Regions from separate parts of the Homo sapiens genome. Here region 2 is linked to region 1. Evidence: promoter capture Hi-C in human tissues and cell types (Jung and others, 2019). All regions are on one chromosome and are shown on one strand. Each heading gives the region's core, a stretch centred on a gene start or on the middle of the fragment in contact. The rest is flanking DNA. Distances are from core to core; before and after follow the strand shown. Region 1 holds the start of FXR2 (FMR1 autosomal homolog 2). Region 2 holds the start of ARHGEF15 (Rho guanine nucleotide exchange factor 15).

What was found. The method cuts DNA at HindIII sites, captures the fragments that hold promoters and counts their contacts. A contact is called where the count stands out against the background at its distance.
Region 2: a contact is called between the fragment with the promoter of ARHGEF15 here and the fragment with the promoter of FXR2 in region 1, in 1 of the 25 tissues and cell types used here (heart left ventricle).

Annotation. Positions count from the first base shown.
Region 1 is chr17:7,613,234-7,616,564 of GRCh38, forward strand. It overlaps FXR2 (FMR1 autosomal homolog 2), which reads right to left and starts at 1,664. Exons shown (of 17, transcript NM_004860.4): 1 at 1,219-1,664. The coding sequence starts at 1,299. It also overlaps a transcript of SHBG not described here. RefSeq lists silencers at 1,219-1,748, 1,859-1,908. The HindIII fragment of the contact is 5,915 bases long and covers 1,544-3,331 here.
Region 2 is chr17:8,308,555-8,311,885 of GRCh38, forward strand. It overlaps ARHGEF15 (Rho guanine nucleotide exchange factor 15), which reads left to right and starts at 1,687. Exons shown (of 16, transcript NM_173728.4): 1 at 1,687-1,789. RefSeq lists an enhancer at 1,681-2,181. The HindIII fragment of the contact is 11,979 bases long and covers 1-3,331 here.

The DNA of each region.
Region 1 (3,331 bases), core at 414-2,913:
GATGCCATGGGAAGGTATCTCTTCCCCAGCTCCCCAGGGTGAAATCAAAGAATGAGACAGAAATCAGGAGAGTCTCTAGGACAATTCCAGGCATCAAATCCAAGAGGTTCAGAATACCAACAGTCACACAAAGAAAAACTCTTGGGAGGCAAGAAAGGGCTCTCTCTGGCTTAATCTAAATGGGAAAAAAATGTCCTAGAAAATAGATTCAGAGCAGATAAGGAAGGTGGTATTATAAGGAGTTCTAAGGAACCAAATCCTGGGCAAAGGGGGAGGTGAAATAAGGAAGGGTCTTTGAAAGATGATCCCGTCTTCCAAAAAAGGTTGTCAGATTCCCGAACTGGGATAGTTGGCCAAGAGTCTTCAAGAAGTGGAAATCTTAAGATAAACAGAAGGGAACCTCATAAGCTTCCTTTCAGAGATCCTTTTAGAGATTATGACTATGAAGCTTACATGCCTCAAGACGAAGAAACTATATGAATGACCTGAAGGTATCTGAGGTCTAAGTGAGACCTCAAATCCATTCCTGAGTAGAATGGTAGAGCAGTGGGTCTTGAGATCAAGGTGTGGTGGGGAGAGAGACTTGCGAAAGATGCCACCTTATGGCTGGCTGGGAAGCAACTTGACTGATCCAACCCAGGGTTCCTGAGGTCAAAGATGCCAAACGTCGTAAATGGATCTGACCATTTCTCCTTGGCTTGGGAACCGGAATATAAGATGAAAGTGGGGTGAGTGTTCCAGAGCCAGTAGGCAGAGGCCTCTCTGAGGAAGATGAAAGGATCTTTTACGGGACAGAGGGCCTTCCCAAAGGGACCGTGTGGAAGAAAGACAATTCTCCATGTGCTTGGATCGTGGGGAAGATGTGATTAAGGTCTAAGGTATGTCTTCCACCAGACAACGGACACAGTCAATTAGAAGCTGGGTAAAGGGGTCTCTCCTGCGGAGCGGGGAGCGCCAAGCCAGGGACAATAATGGCCTGAAGTTCATTCTCCCGGAGATGGGGGTAGAAGCAGGTGCAGGTGCCTTAGAGGGGTCAAAAATAAGAGGAACAGGGTTCACTCTAAGCGGTCTCCCAGGGAAGGCTGCGGGTTGGAGCAAGGGTCCAAGATTCTAAGGGCCAGGACTCAGCTCCAGAAGCTCGATCCCGCCCCACGCGTTCCTGCTCCGGCCAGGGGAGGGGGCTAAGGACCGGCGTCCCCAGTCGGCGCGCCGTCTCACCTTGTAGAAGGCCCCGTTGGAGCCGCGCACCTCGACGGGCAGTCCCGGCTCCACATCCCCCCCAGAGGCCAGGCCGCCCATGGCGCCGCCACCGCCTCCGACTCCCCCGGCGGCGGCTGCAGCAGCAGTCTGAGTGCGGGCCGGGCCAGGCCCCCGGCGTCTCCCCGGAGGAGGAGCCGGAGGGGGAGCCGCGGGGGGCGGGAGCCGGGCCGGCCCCACGGCGGCCCTGCCACAGCCAACGAGCAGGGGGCCGGGGCCGGGCCGCTCCCCGTCCGCCGCCGCCGCCTTGGTCTCCGCCACCGTGAGGGAAACGGCCGCCGCCGCCGCTGCCTTCGTCACCTCAGCTTCCGCCCGCCGCCGCCCCCGCTGCTGCCTCAGTCCCGGGACCCGCTGCTGCCGCTGCCGCTCCACAGCCTCCACCTCCCCCTGCCACCGCCGCCTACTGCGCAGGCGCACCGGGCACCCGCCCGCTGCGCGCGGGGCCCCGAGGGCCACCGCGCAGGCGTCAAGGTTAGAGCCCCAGCTAGCGCCAGCTAGCGCATCGGGGCTTCCACATTCCCTTTCACTCTCTCACTCCCCCTCCTGGTCGCTTGCTAGCGCTTGCGCAGAACAAGATTAGCCTTCTTTCTTCACCGCTCCACCGCCCAGCCACCCCGTCTCTTCCTTTCCCCGCCCCACAACACTGAGAACCAACCAATCAGGGGGAGGGAGGGGCCGGGCTCGCTCAGTCCGATTGGGCGGCGTCCGCACAGTCACACAGCGCTCAGGCCACACCCACTCCGCCGCCGCTGGCCCCACCGGGCTTGGACAAGTTAGGGATGGGCATGCGCCTGAACGACTGCTTGGTCACTTTCCCCACCTTTGTCTTTCTTGGTGCGCACGCTCCAAAAAGAAAAAAAAAAGAAGAGGAGTCGCCGCAAGGAAAAAGGTGCTTGGTGCGCACGCGCTGAGCTTTACCCTCTTCGCGTATGCATCGCCGATATTTTAAGAATCTGTAACTCTCTACTGTAGTAGATTTAACAGTCATGGCTCTTACCTTGAAGAGATTGTGATACAATGAAAGTTTTGGCCGGGCGCGGTGGCTCACGCCTGTAATCCCAGCGCTCTGGGAGGCCGAGGCAGGTGGATCACCTGAGGTCCTCGGATCACCTGAGGTCAGGGGTTCGAGACCAGCGTGGCCAAAATGGTGAAACCCACCCCCCCCCCCACCCCGCATCTAATAAAATACAAAAATTAGCCGGGCGTGGTGACACGCGCCTGTAATCCCAGATACTCGGGAGGCTGAGGCAGGAGACTACCTTGAACCTGGGAGGCAGAAGTTGCAGTGAGCCAAGATCGCACCATTGCACTCCAGCCTGGGCGACAGAGCAAGACTCAGTCTCAAAAAAAAAAAAAAAAGAAAGAAAGAATAGAAAGAAAGCTTTAAGAATAGTTTCAGACGGGCGCTGTGGCTCACTCCTGTAATCCCAGCACTTTAGGAGGCTCAGGCGGTGGATCACTTGAGCCCAAAAGTTTGACACCAGCCTCAACAGGGCGAAACCCTGTTTCTACTAAAAATACAAAAATTAGGACGGGCGCGGTGGCTCAGGCCTGTAATCCCAGCACTTTGGGAGGCCGAGATCACGGGCGGGCGGATCACGAGGTCAGGAGATGGAGACCATTCTGGCCAACATGGTGAAACCTCGTCTCTACTAAAATACAAAAAATTAGCCGTGGTAGTTCCAGCTACTCGGAAGGAGTCCCAGCTACTCAGGAGGCTGAGGCAGGAGAATCGCTTGAACCTAGGAAGGTGGAGGTTGCAGTGAGTGGATATCATGCCACCACACTCCAGCCTGGGCAATGAGTGAAATTTCTTCTTTAAAAATAATAATAATGGCAGGGCGCGGTGGCTCATGCCTATAATCCCAACACTTTGGGAGGCCGAGACGGGCGGATCACGAGGTCAGGAGATCGAGACCATCCTGGCTAACACGGTGAAACCCCATCTCAACTAAAAATACAAAAAAAAAAAAAAAAAAAAAAAATTAGCTGGGCGTGGTGGCGGGCGCCTGTAGTCCCAGCTACTCGGGAGGCTGAGGCAGGAGAATGGCGTGAACCCAGGAGGCGGAGGTTG
Region 2 (3,331 bases), core at 437-2,936, 700 kb after region 1:
TTGGCTTCATGCTGTTTTTATTGGGGCTTATTGTTTGGAAAATTAAGTCTCTTCTGGGATTACAGGGGAGTGCCACCATGCCTGGCTAATTTTTTTTTTTTTTTTGAGATGGAGTTTCACTCTTGTTGCCCAGGCTGGAGTGCAATGGCACGATCTCAGCTCACTGCAACCTCCGCCTCCTGGGCTCAAGTGATTCTTGTGCCTCAGACTCCTGAGTAGCTGGGATTACAGGCGAGTGCCACCATGCCCGGCTAATTTTTTTTTTTTTTTTGAGATGGAGTTTCACTCTTGTTGCCCAGGCTGGAGTGCAATGGCACGATCTCAGCTCACTGCAACTGCCACCTCCTGGGTTCAAGTGATTCTCTCTCCTCAGCCTCCAGAGCAGCTGGGATTACAGGTGCCCGCCACCATGCCCAGCTAATTTTTGTATTTTTTTTTTTTAGTAGAGATGGGGTTTCACCATGTTGGCCAGGCTGGTCTCAAACTTCTGGCCTCAGATGATCCACCCTCCTTGGCCTCCCAATCTGCTAGGATTATAGGCGTGAGCCACGGCTCCTGGGACATTTTTTATTTTTATTTTTTTTGAGATGGAGTCTTGCTCTGTTGCCTAGGCTGGAGTGCAGTGGCAGGATCTTGGCTCATTGCAACCTCCACCTCCTGGGTTCAAGTGATTCTCCTGCTTCACCCTCCCGAGTAGGTGGTAGTACAGGCGTGCGCCACCACACCCGGCTAATTTTTTTGTATTTTTAGTAGAGACAGGGTTTCACCATGTTGGCCAGGCTGGTCTCAAACTCCTGACCTCAGGTGATCCTCCTGCCTCGGCCTCCCAAAGTGCTGGGATTACAGGCATGAGCCACTGCGCCCGACCTCTGCACATTTTTTATTGTTTTCAGACAGCATATTGCTCTGTTGCCCAGGCTGGAGGGCAGTGGTGCGATCACGGCTCACTGTAGTGTCCAACTCCTGGGCTCAAGTAATCTTCCCACCTCAGCCTCCTGAGTAGCTGGGACCACAGATGTGTGCCATTATGGCTTTTTTTTTTCTTTTGAGATGGAATTTCGCTCTTGTTGGCCAAGCTGAAGTGCAATGGCGCGATCTCGGCTCACTGCAACCTCTGCCTCCTGGGTTCAAGCAATTCTCCTGCCTCAGCCTCCCGACTAGCTGGGATTACAGGCGTGTGCCACCATGCTTGGCTAATTTTTTGTATTTTTAATAGAAACGGGGTTTCACTATGTTAGTCAGGCTGGTCTCGAACTCCTGACCTCAGGTGATCCGCCTGCCTCGGCCCCCCTAAGTGCTGGGATTACAGATGTGAGCCACCTCGCCCGGCCTGTCCACGGCTAATTTTTTAAAAATCTTTTGTAGAGACAGGGTCACACTATGTTGCCGAGGCTGGTCCTCCCACCTTGCCCTCCCAAAGTGCTGGAGTGCTGGGATTATAAGGATGAGCAACCACGCCTGGGCCCCTGCAAATGTTATACCTCCCTGGAGGAGACAGACCCCAAGTCCACACTTCTCTCTTCAGTCCTACCTCCTGGCCCTCCCCTTTTCTCTCTCCTCTAACACACACACACACACACACACACACACACACACACACACACACGCCAGACACAATGGCTGGGTGGGGCTGAGGAACTGGCTTCCTCCGCAGAGATCTCAATCTGGGCCCTGAGTTCCCACCCCAGAATCACAGGAACACACACTTGGAAACCTCAGCCCTGCATTCCTCGCTCCAAGGGGCAGACAGGACAGGCTGAAAATAGCAACTGGTTCCAAAAAGATAAAGGTAAATTCATGGGGACCTACTGCAGAGTTAGGGAGGGAAGCCTGCGGGAGGGTCCCTGGGTGTGAAATAGGCGTTGGCTCACACCCGGCTCAGGAGACAGGTGGTGGTGCAAGTCGGGGAAAGATGGTGAGACTCGCCGTGGAGGGACGCACGCAGCATCCCTTAGCTGAGACAGAGGCATCCAGACACCCATGCTGCTCAGCCAGGCTCTGTGCCATTGCCGTCTTGTCCTCATCCCTACCCCTGTCCACCTCACCCCTATGAGCCCCGATCCACACAGCTGTGCAGGTAGAACCTGCGCACACACTTTCCAAGCCTGAATTTCAGCTTTTCCCCAGACCCCTTTAACCTCTGAGACCCTGGATACCTCTGTCTCCTGGGGCCCTGTGTGATGTGCGCATGTGGAGAGTGGTGTGGTTCGTGAGGGGGGGGTGTCCGGTTGGGAGGCGGATCTGATTCCTGTTTCCTGCCCCTACTCACTCAGCCCTGGGAGGTGACTGAGAGTGGAGGGGATTCAAGGGTGAGTGCTTGGGGCCCGAGTACCTGGGTTCCTAAGGGTGGGGTAGGGAAGGAAGTAAATGCAGGTACCCGAGAGGGGGTGGGATCCCTGAGGGGCAGGGGCTGGGGAGGAGTTGGCCAGTGGTCAAGACTACCGTGTGGGTCACTTTGCTAAATGACTTTCTGCCAGAACACAGAGGCCACTGAGCTGCAAGACCCATCATCTACAACCCCCTTGTTCCCCCCTCATCATTTCTCAAGGAGCCAGTCCGAGGCCTGGAGGGGTCTGACTCTCCTGCTGACCCCTGAAGGGAGTTTGGGGGTTCCTCTGCTTCCCAGCCCTGACCCTGCAGCCTTCTTGGGATTGTAGCCTCCTTCCTCGAGGGAGGAAGAGAAACCCAGGCCGCAGCGCCCTGGCCCGACTGGTCCTGTCCTTCGGTTCATTCTCCCAGCCACCTCCCCAGGCCTCTTGGCAAGACCCATGGCTGTGCTGGGCCTCTCTCTGTGACCAGACCCTAGGGCAGGCGGGGATGATCAGACGCAGGACAGGAGAGACCTCGCCAGGACCTCCTCATCTCCGGGGGTCAGAGGCTCCAAGAATCTTGATGGCAGGAAAAGGAGACTAAAAATAATCCGGAAAGGGAGAGTCCGGAGAGAGGAACTGGGAAATGGGGGGCGGAGGGCCAGTGGAGCAGGGAAACAGTGATGCACGCCTCGCAGCCCAGGCCCGGCGGACAGGCGCGCCCACGGCACCCAGACCCAGACAGCGCAGAACACACATGGCACACCCACCCTGGCACCGCTATCTCAGACACTCACACCGAGAACTTCCTAAAGGGCCACACACCACACACCGTATGCTCCACTCTCCCCCTGCACACCCACCCGGCAAGCACAGAACTCGCACACTCACAACACACCATGCCACCCCCTACACAAACCACACACAAACCTCCACAACACACTCCACGGACACACGGTTCAGTGGGCAGACACGGAGCGGCTGTATCCCGTATTGAGTTTTATGGATTCTCTGGAACCCCC